Linked DNA regions of Homo sapiens: all the other regions are linked to region 1. The links are contacts of gene promoters, found by promoter capture Hi-C in blood cells and fetal thymus (Javierre and others, 2016). All regions are on one chromosome and are shown on one strand. The core of a region is centred on a gene start or on the middle of the fragment in contact, and the rest is flanking DNA. Distances in the headings are between cores, read along the strand shown. Region 1 holds the start of RAB38 (RAB38, member RAS oncogene family). Region 2 has its middle 28 kb from the start of GRM5-AS1. Region 3 overlaps GRM5 (glutamate metabotropic receptor 5).

What was found. The method cuts DNA at HindIII sites, captures the fragments that hold promoters and counts their contacts. A CHiCAGO score of 5 or more calls a contact.
Region 2: a fragment that was not itself captured here is called in contact with the fragment with the promoter of RAB38 in region 1 in 1 of 17 cell types (total CD8 T cells); the score reaches 5.4 in total CD8 T cells.
Region 3: a fragment that was not itself captured here is called in contact with the fragment with the promoter of RAB38 in region 1 in 3 of 17 cell types (activated CD4 T cells, megakaryocytes and M0 macrophages); the score reaches 6.1 in activated CD4 T cells.

Annotation. Positions count from the first base shown.
Region 1 is chr11:88,174,157-88,177,903 of GRCh38, reverse strand. It overlaps RAB38 (RAB38, member RAS oncogene family), which reads left to right and starts at 2,461. Exons shown (of 3, transcript NM_022337.3): 1 at 2,461-2,721. The coding sequence starts at 2,520. MIR3166 (microRNA 3166) reads right to left here and starts at 1,402; the gene lies at 1,311-1,402. The HindIII fragment of the contact is 9,633 bases long and covers 307-3,747 here.
Region 2 is chr11:88,475,026-88,478,427 of GRCh38, reverse strand. No RefSeq gene overlaps it. Among named protein-coding and RNA genes, the nearest start is that of GRM5-AS1, 28 kb to the left of the region's middle. The HindIII fragment of the contact is 4,294 bases long and covers 1-3,402 here.
Region 3 is chr11:88,527,024-88,530,272 of GRCh38, reverse strand. All of the region lies in intron 8 of GRM5 (glutamate metabotropic receptor 5), which reads left to right. Among named protein-coding and RNA genes, the nearest start is that of GRM5-AS1, 24 kb to the right of the region's middle. The HindIII fragment of the contact is 399 bases long and covers 1,728-2,126 here.

The sequences.
Region 1 (3,747 bases), core at 1,212-3,711:
TTTAGAATGGCTTAAGCATCTTGGGCTACTGAATTCCCCTCCCTGGGAAGTGAGGTGACATTGTTGGCTAATTCTTTAAGCAGGTAGAGTATTTGTCTCACTTGTTAGATGTGATCTTCTTGGTGTGTCCTCGCATGGGTGGAAACCAGTAAATGAGGCCTACCCAGCTAAGCACTTCAATAAAACACAAACGACTGCAATTCTACACACTGTCACTTAGTGTCCATTCTGAGCAAAACTTCTGAGTTACTCTCTGAGGAAAGATGAAACTGCACAGGACAGTGCCTGTGGACAGTATTTTAAGCTTGTCCCTCATTTCATAGTAATAGCTACAATTTATTTACCACCTACTATGGACCCAGCATTTTATCAACAATTTCATTTGTATTTATTTATTTATTTATTTATTTATTTATTTAGAGATAGAGTCTTGCTCAGGTTACCCAGGCTGGAGAGCAATGGTGTGATCTTGGCTCACTGCAACCTCTGCATCCCTGGTTCAAGATAGTCTCCTGTCTCAGCCTCTCAAGTAGCTGGGATTATAGTCACCTGCCACCACGCCCGGCTAATTTTTGTATTTTTAGTAGAGACGGGTTTCACCATGTTGGCCAGGCTGGTCTTGAACTCCTGACCTCAAGTGATTCACCCACCTCAGCCTCCCAAAGTGCTTGGATTACAATCATGAGCAACCATGCCCTGCCATAGGTATTATCATTCTCCTTTCGTTGATGTGGAAACCAAGGCTCAGAGGTTATGTGACTTGTCCCGGGTACACATCTTCAGCATCCCTCTGCTTGTTTGGGGCATGTGGAGGCTAAAGTTTAGGGAGTGTCAGGCCAGAAGAGGAAGGCAGAAAGACAATGGCCTTGCCAAACCTCCTTTCTCCCTTTCACACAGGCCTGTGTTTAAGTCCTAGTTCTAACACATACTAGTTATGTGTGCCCTTGAGAAAGCTGCTGTTAATCTTGGTTTCCTTATTTATAAATTGAAGAAAATAACCCACTTCATAAAGCAATTGAGAAGATGAAATGATAGAATGTGAGCAGAGCTCCTTCACAGCACATTCAGGTACAAAATAGCTCATTTTGGTATAAACTGCTCACCCCCTAGCCCTGAATGCCCAATTTCTCATTTTCTTTATGTCTTTACTAAATTGTCTCCATCTTACTGAAACCTTCCCTGGCCACCCTATCTAAAAGGCAAACCCCATATAATCTCTTCACATCCCCTTTCTGCCTTATTTTATTACCAATTAATATATGACAAATTGTATTTATTTTGTCTTGTCCTGTCTCCACCCACAAGAAGGTAAATTTTTCTTAGGCCAGTAGGCATTGTCTGCGTTAGGAGGATGATACAGAAATCCTAACGCAGACAATGCCTACTGGCCTCAAAAAAATTTACCTTCTTGTAGGTGGAGACAGACAAGACAAAATAAGTACAATTTGTCATATATTAATTGGTAATAAAATGTATATTGGTCAAATGAATGAAAACAAACAACAAAAACAACAAAAAGAAGTTGGGAACCTAAAGACCTATGTTTGAATTTGGTTTTTTTCCTTACTATTTGACTCTGGGTCCATTACTTAAAATGTCTGGTCCTTAGCTTCCTCATTTGTAAAATAGGAAGAAAAATGGTATCTATTATTAAGACAGCTGGGATGACTAAATGACATAATTTATAAACCCTCTGGCATATAGCGAGTGCTCAATAAATGTTTGCCATTATTATTATTTGTAATAATCTGACCGATTGTTAAAACTGTCTTTCTGTGCAGCTCTGAGTTTTTAGGATATGGGAAGAGGCTAAAAGTCACCAGTGCCCTTGGCATTTTCGGCCCAGTTGTCCTCCTTGTTAACTGATTACCAGTTGAATGGGTGTGAAAGTGCTCAGTGTTCCCACCTCCAAGCTGCTCAGAGGTCAGCATTGCCATTCATTGAGAAATAACAGGCTGTGAGAGCTCAAATGACTTACTTATGGTCCCTCAACTTAAAAACCAGGGCACGCAGGAACCAAGCCCAGCCAGTCTTGGGCTTCCTAATACTGTAATTTCTCTCTACAGTGTGGGGTAGTTAAGAGCCTGTGACTTCAGACCTGTGGTCAACGGGGCCTTTCACCGGCCATCTCCCGCAGAGTACTTTTTCACAATCAGTTTTCTCGCAAGCAAAACGTGGAAAATAAGATCCACACCTCACAAGTTTGTGGCCAGGGTCACAGGTGAAAACAGCTCTTCGGAAACTCTAAAGCGCCGGATAAATAAGCGCTGCAACAGGCAACCACACGCGAACCCCTTTCAGCTGCCAGTCCCGGGACTCGCTCCTGTCTCCTCCCCTCTCCAAGACCGCGGAGTAGGAAGGAGGATTAACCCCTAGGGGAGGAGTTCCGCCCCCCAGCCCCCGCCCCGCCGCCCACGCCTCTCTCTGCACCTACACTTGCGCTCCCCAAGTCTCTCTCGTGCGCAGAGCCCAGGCTGCGCTTCCCTGGTCAGGCACGGCACGTCTGGCCGGCCGCCAGGATGCAGGCCCCGCACAAGGAGCACCTGTACAAGTTGCTGGTGATTGGCGACCTGGGCGTGGGGAAGACCAGTATCATCAAGCGCTACGTGCACCAGAACTTCTCTTCGCACTACCGGGCCACAATCGGCGTGGACTTCGCGCTCAAGGTGCTCCACTGGGACCCGGAGACTGTGGTGCGCCTGCAGCTCTGGGATATCGCAGGTGAGCGCGGGGGGAGGGGGTCAGGGGGATAGAGCGCCTCGCGGCCGGTTTCCAGTCTCGAGGCAGCGGCTTGCGGCCAAGCGTGAGATTAAAATCACTAGGTCGCGAGGCAGTTTTTCCTGGTGGGCTGGAAACTTAGTTTCAAAGAAAAGAAAAACGTCTGAAACTTCAAGTGCATTCCCTGGCGCTTTTGGGCTATTGCTTTAGCTCCTTCCCGCACAGTCCCCTGGGATCTCTCTGCCCAGAGCAGGCCTCCCCAGGGAACCAGAGGAAGATTGTCTGCAATTGCATTCTGTTCTCCACTCCAGCTCGTTTTCTGGGCGCGGGCAGTTCTGCCAATGACGCAGCCCAGTGTCACGCACGTCCTTCCGTGCAGGGGCGGACCGAGGGGAAGCCCCTAGGCTGGTTCACAGAGGAAACCGGGATAGTTCCAGGCTAGCTGGAGTTTGCCCATTCCTGTCTTCAGTGGCTCACTTTATTTCAAATTTTGTCACCTTTCTCTCTGCCCTTAAGACAAAGGAGTTTGAGGGTTTTTGTTTTGTTTTTTTTTTTTTTTTTTTTTGCTTTTTGCTTACAGTAAGCCAAGTACTTTTGTGTGTATATGTCAGGGGCAAAGTATTCTTTCTCCCTCTCTTTCTGTATTTCTATCTCTCTGGCTCTCTGTCTTCTATGAAAAGGAGGTTGTGTGTATATTTTAAGGCCATTTTTATGTAAGGGCCTATGATAGCCTTATGATTTCTTGATTTGGCCCTAAAGTTTTCATTGAGAGATCTGAAAAATGAGAGGTTGTTTGTTTTTGTTTTTTACAATATTTAAAATCAGATTTTGACTCCACAGGTTTGTACCAGAAGTTAGGCCTAGTCAAAAGTGAGGGTGCAATGTATCTACTCCAAGTGTGAATCCTTGGACAAGGCTGTTTGCAACCTGCGCATGACCAACCCCTCATTACAGATTTTAGCCCTGCCACTAACTAACCTGCTCAGTGGCTTTGGACAAGTCTCTTCAGCTCAGTTGCATCGCTGTTAA
Region 2 (3,402 bases), core at 828-3,327, 300 kb before region 1:
TAGAAAAGGACAAGAAAATAAATGGCCTGACTATGTCATTCATAGAGTTATAATGAGGGCTTTACAAGTTTACTACTTGCTATCATCATCAGGATGATTCAGCGTTTCAGAAGATACTCAAGTATACTCTTTTCCCAATTTCCCTGTCTCTAACTTACACATCACCTCTAGCTCCAGCATGAAGATTTCAAAAATACCACTTATGTATTCTCTTCTGTCTTTTTCCTTTAGGACATTGTTTCTATGATCTGAATGTTTGTATGTTACCAAAATTCACATGTTGAAACCCCAGTAAATAATATTCAGAGGTGGGGTCTTTGAGAGATGACTAGCCCACCTTTTATTAGCCTGTGCCCAGGATCATTAGGATCAGCTCTCTCACCTGGCTCTGCTGGTGGTTGCTGACTGCATGCTGACTTTCCTCTGCACTGCTACACTCCTTCCTCAGCAAACTCTTTGAACACACAGCCTCTGCAGAAAAATGCTTTTTGCTTACACTCCCTATAGAAGTTTTAGAATCTTCTCTTCTTACCAGTATCCCCAGGCTTCCAAAAGAGGTCATTCTTACTACTTCCTGGGTTTGTGCTCTTTGAAAGGCCAACCCGAAGGAGGCCCCAAATTAAAACATATCTAACCATATTTTTAAAAGTTAATAGCCAATTAGTGTTAATTTCATGTAGCATCAAGCACATAGTTTTCTAACAACTTTCTATTAAATATAATAAATACAGAAAAGAGTACATACCAGAAGTGTAAGCTGAACACAGATGAAACCAACACACAGAAGGGCCCCTTCTGCTTCCTTTCTGCCTCTGCCTCCGCCTCTCCCAAAGACTAACCACTCTCCTTACTTCTAACATCCTATATGGGATGTGTCTTTTTCTATGCTCTCTATAAATGGAATACAATTTATACTATTTGTATCTGGCTTCTGTCACTCAACATTATGTTTGGGAAATTCATCCATATGGTTGGAGCACTTGTAGATTGATCACTCTTATTGCTGTTTAGTTTTGTGCTCTCTTGATTTGCTTAGTTGATCTCAGAAATTATGAAAATGACTCACTTCTAAAAGTTAGAATTCCACATAAGCAATGTCTTTGGGGAAAAGAAGCCTAAAAGTATATAACTCGTTAGGATTTATAGGCCATTTGATCCAATATTTTTCAAACATTTTTGCATCCAACCCTTAGTGGGGGTGCAACCACAGACAAGTCAACTGACCTTATCTGTAAAATAGAGATGATACCTACTCCAGAGAGTTGCTACCCAGATTACATGATGTGATATTTGTACAAATATCCAGCAGTATGCCTGACAAACAGTAAGAACTCAAGTTTTTTTATATTTTAAATTGAATAGGTAGTTGTGTTTCTATGACCAACCTGAAGCAAGACTTGCAGCCATCGCTGTAAACTAGCAGTCAAAAGCTGGGGGGCTACATGGATGTGTTATACAGACAATTGTTCCTCATTTCTGAACACCTGGATTCTATTACTAACCTCCCCTCTTCCTACCTAAAGTACTTTAAGGCTTAACCATTTTAGCCTCAATGGTCTCATTAGTTAAATGAGGATATTATATGTGTGTGTGTGTGCTCTTGTGTATATGTGTATATATATGTATGTATACCTATACATCTCATGGGATTGTTGTGGTAACATACTATATTCAGAGGTACTTTGTAAAATAAAATATTTTAAAGTCCAAATGACGCATATTGCTATAGAAAAGACCATGAACCACCTAACAGTTTTCACATCACAATTATCATAGAGAAAAAGCATCATGGTATCACTTAGGAGAGAAGTGAAGAGGTTTTAATTAGATTCTTAATAGCTACACATTGTAGAGAACCTACAATATGCCAATCACTGCTAAACACTCTACAAACACATACACTGATTTCCTAATTCCTCACAATGACCAGGATTTAGTATTACTCTCTTTCTCACATGAGGAAATTGGGGTTCAAATAAGTTAAGCATATTATCTAAGGTCACTTGGTAATGGGTAAGACCAAGGCACAAGCCCAAGTTTGTCTGGCTCCAAGGCCCATACTCTTGGCACCACATGGCACTGCCTCAGCAATGTGAAATAACAGATGCTGCCCAAATTAAAACTACATGGAGTTATGATTAGCACATTGGCATGGGCTCTTAAGTGGGCAGGACAGATGCTGAAACTAGGCAGAAGTAAGTGTACCAACTGATGGGAACCAGGACAAACAATCAAAGAACATGCCTATGAAAAAAAAATCTGTTGCTCCCAGAATGTTAAAACATTTTTGTTTAAACAGAATCCTCATGTCCTTGTTATGAGGAACAGTCAGAGATTTAGTGAAATATTCTCAGTGAGTCAATCAGGAATGCTGTTAAAAGTTACAGTGTGCCTGGTTCTGGGAAGACTGCATAGGTATAACGTGATCTTTAAATGGAATTTATTTAAAGTGTGATCCTTCAGTCCATCCATGTCCCTTTTGGCCATGCTTTTAAATTGCTTATAAACATGTCACACAGATTGTTAAAGGAAACACACAGGAAACTTTCAATCTTCTTGGGTAATATGATCATGAAATACCTCAGGGAAAAAAAGTACAGATGTTTTATTTGGAAATTGTGTTCTTTCTTTTTAATAGGAGTAGAACTACAGCAACTTTGTTAATTTACCTAAGGTTGAATTTGAAAGGAATAGAGAATGTAGTCAGTTCTGTCCTTACTACCTGGTTAAAAAGTCCTTTCTGAAAATACCATCAAAATGGACATTTTTAAAAAAATGACAGAGATCCTCTAATACAATCTGTGTTGCATCTCCCAAGTAAATATATGAAGGAAGTAATTTCCTATCCTTTTCCAAATATTAATTCAGCCATTTTGTGTTTTGTTCTAATCATAAACATAATGTATTCTTTCAATAAATATTTTAAATGATGCCAAAAATGATGTAGAAAAAAATGTCATTACGCATACGTGAACGTTGTTAGAACTTAGATGAACATTCTTTCACAGATATCTCTTCTCTGTCTCTATTTCTTTTTTTCCTCTCTCATGCACACCTCACACACATCTGTGCATATGCATACATAATCTTACATAAATAAAATCAAATACAATGAACATTTTATTAATCTTCTTCTTTGAACATTTCCATAGATATTTTTTCCAAGGTTTCCATCATCATGTTTAGTGGCTGCTTAGCATTTTATTTTATGGATGATAAGGCAGACGGATAGTATTGATTAAATATCCTGGAATCAGAGACAGCAGTTTCTGTCAATACATAACAAGTCCCTTTCTCTCATAAGATCTTAAGTTCCTTACTTGTAAAAAAGGTGACTGAAGTAGGTGGTTTACTTAACACCGGCATTCCATAGAGGAGTATTCTATATCCTAAATGGAATTG
Region 3 (3,249 bases), core at 678-3,177, 350 kb before region 1:
TACAAGATTGAAGAGCCTTAAACTCCATGTCTAGCATATACAAGGCACTCAGCAGATTTTTTTTCCAGTAAATGTTTTAAGGGAATGCTTACACTAACAGTGTTATAAAAGTTTTTGGACAGGTAGAATGAGCATGGCTATTCACCTCTTCTTTCCACTGTCTACATAGTTTTCCTGTTCTGAATATTTTCAACCATTCTCATTGTATTTGCAACCATCGGTATGCTGAGAGCTCCCCTGTGTATAACAATCCTCTAACCTCCAAATGTTTATACTCATGTGTCTGCTGAATATGTCCACTTGGATGTCCCACCAGCATCTCAAATCAAATATTCCAAAATGAAGCTTTTTACTTCCTTGCCCAAATATACTCCTTCTCTTGAATTTTCTTAACTCAGTTAACTGCACCATCCAACACAGTAACTGGGGTATCATTCTATACTTCTTCCTATTATACTCATCATCCAATAAATCCTACTCATTTTTGCCTCCCAAATAGTCTTGAGACTGTGCTCTATTTTTCATCTGTATTATCGCTACCCTAAGCATTAGCTTATCATCTCTCACATGCATAACTGTAGTAGTATTTCTCTATCTCTCTAGTTTTGTTCCTTCAAGTCCATTGCATTTTATCTAAATGTCAACTCTGATCCTGTTTTATGTAGCATAAGGATTCCACAATGACATCTCATAATCAACAAGCAAATTCATCATTTTTATATACTTCTCCATCTGCTTTCCCCTTTGACCTCCTATTTTATACTTCTTACAATAAAAATTACTAAACAGTGTTTCCCAGTATACACCATGCTGCTAAACCTCTCTACATGTTTGCACCTGATTTTCTCTTCACGGTGCATGTCTGCTCAATTTTTCAGATTTGTCTTACGTATCATATCTCACTAAAGTGTTCTCTGCCAATCTAGTATGGGTTAAGTAACCCTTCTTGTATTTGTTTCTATAATAAAACTTCTTACATTGTTTGGAAATTATCTGTTTACATTTCATCTTCTCATTCAAGACTGTGACCTTATCAATGACATAATCACCCATATGCTCCTTATCACAGTGCCCAGCACATGGACTATTCAGTAAACGGTTTTGAATGATGTCAACTAAACCTGCCTGGTACAGGCATAGGGACCTAAAGGAAGTAACAAAATTTAAAGTCCTATCACTAGATTCTCTACTGCCTGTACTTGATAACTCTGCTACTTATTTGCAAAACGGGGTCAAGAAGAGAAAAGGTAAATAATAAGCTTTTGTAATTTTGTTTTTAAACGTAGTAATATTGTTACTTGGAGGAAAAATTAATGGAAATAGCATGAGCTTTAGAATCAGAGAAACCTGATTTTTAACCTTGGGCTCCCTGCTCATAAACCACATGAGGTTGGGCTTACTGACACTGATCTTCAGTGTCTGCCTCTTCAGAATGAGAATAATAGCAGCTGCTTTGTATGGCTGTTTTAATAATTTACAATAGTGTACAGCAAACAGCCTGGCATGCTCAATATTTTGTCATTATTACTTTTTATTATAACTTTGAATATAAATATAGTAAATTAAACATTTCATTTGAAAAGTGAGTTAATACTTGCAAAGCACTTGAAACAGTGCCTTACAAGTATGAGTGTATGGGTGTTTTAGTATCTGATATATAAATTTATTATGTAAAAGAAATGAAATTTTAAAATTGATATTCCATGATCTGTAAATTCTGAAAAGCTTAAACTATTTTTAATTGACAATTCCATATTTCTAAAATAAACTCAACTGGAAAAAAATGTTGAGTTTTTAAACTCAACAGTTGAGACTATTAAATCTATTAGTAATTTTGAACAGCACATTACTGGTAAATGGGATAATGAGTAAGTGAATGAATAAAAATATGATCTATTTAAATATCTGGTGAATATAATTACAGGTACAGACAGGCAAGTAGGGTCCTATCTGAAAGCAATGATGAGTTTCCCATTCTGTATTAATGCCATTTTCAGCTTGCATTGAATACAAAAACTGCTTGAAAGTTCCAAAAAGTCTAAGATATTGCTCACATTTTTAAAATGAGTTTTGTTATTATTGTTTTGAATTTTCATTATTTTGTTTTTTATATGTCAGTGAAAGCTTTTACCAAAAGCAGTTAGGTTTTGTTTTTGTTTTTTGTTTTGTTTCTATGGTTTTTCTAAACTTTTAGGTTCAGGGGTATATGTGCAGGTTTGTTTTATAGGTAAGTTGTGTTTTGCAGGGGTATAATATGCAGATTATTTCATCACCCAGGTAATAAGTATAGAATCTGGTAGGTAGTTTTTTGATCCTCACTCTCCTCCCACCCTCCACCCTCATGGAGGCCCCAGTGTCTATTTTTCCCTTTGTGTCCATGCGTACTCAGTGTTAAGCTCCCATTGATAAATGAAAACATGAAGTACTTGGTTTTCTGTTTCTCCATTAGTTTGGTTAGGATAATGCCCTCCTGTGCTATTCATGTGTAAAGGACATGATCTCATTCTTTTTATGACTGCATAGTATTCTATGATGTATATGTACCACATTTTCTTTATCCATTTTACCGTTGATGGGCATTTAGGTTGATTCCATGACTTTGTTATAGTGAATAGTGCTGCAGTGAACATATACATGGATGTGTTTTTATGATAGAGAGATTTATATTCCTTTAGGTATATGACCAGTAATGGGATTTCTGGGTCAAATGGTAGTTCTGCTTTAAGTTCTTTGAGAAATTGCCAAGCTGATTTCCACAGTGGCTGAACTAATTTCCATTCCCACTAGCAGTGTGTAAGCATTCCTTTTTCTTCACAGAGGTTAGAGTTTGATAGAATAAGATGCTTAGGATCTATTCCATATTTCATAAACAGAGGTCACCTGGCAGAGTGTGTGTGGTCATGAGAGAAAGAAAGAAAGAGAAGAGCTTATAAGCATGAAGACTGTAGGTTTCTTAACTCATCTATGAAATATTTAATGATTAATTCACAATTAGCCTAACAGAAGATATTCAAAAATATGTTAAGGATCCCTTTGTAAGGAAGTGAATGACCACCAATAATTTATTATTCTATCAATATTCTTTTAATTTGAGCTGTCGAGCAGTATTTTGCTTGAGCAATCCAATTCACAAAGAAGCACAAAATACTTTGCATTGAAACATTGAGCATCATTTGGCCATTGGTACTTCTAAGGTATTTTCTTGGTAAAATTAAGTCTACTCAATCTAGCTTGGTCTGATGATTTACC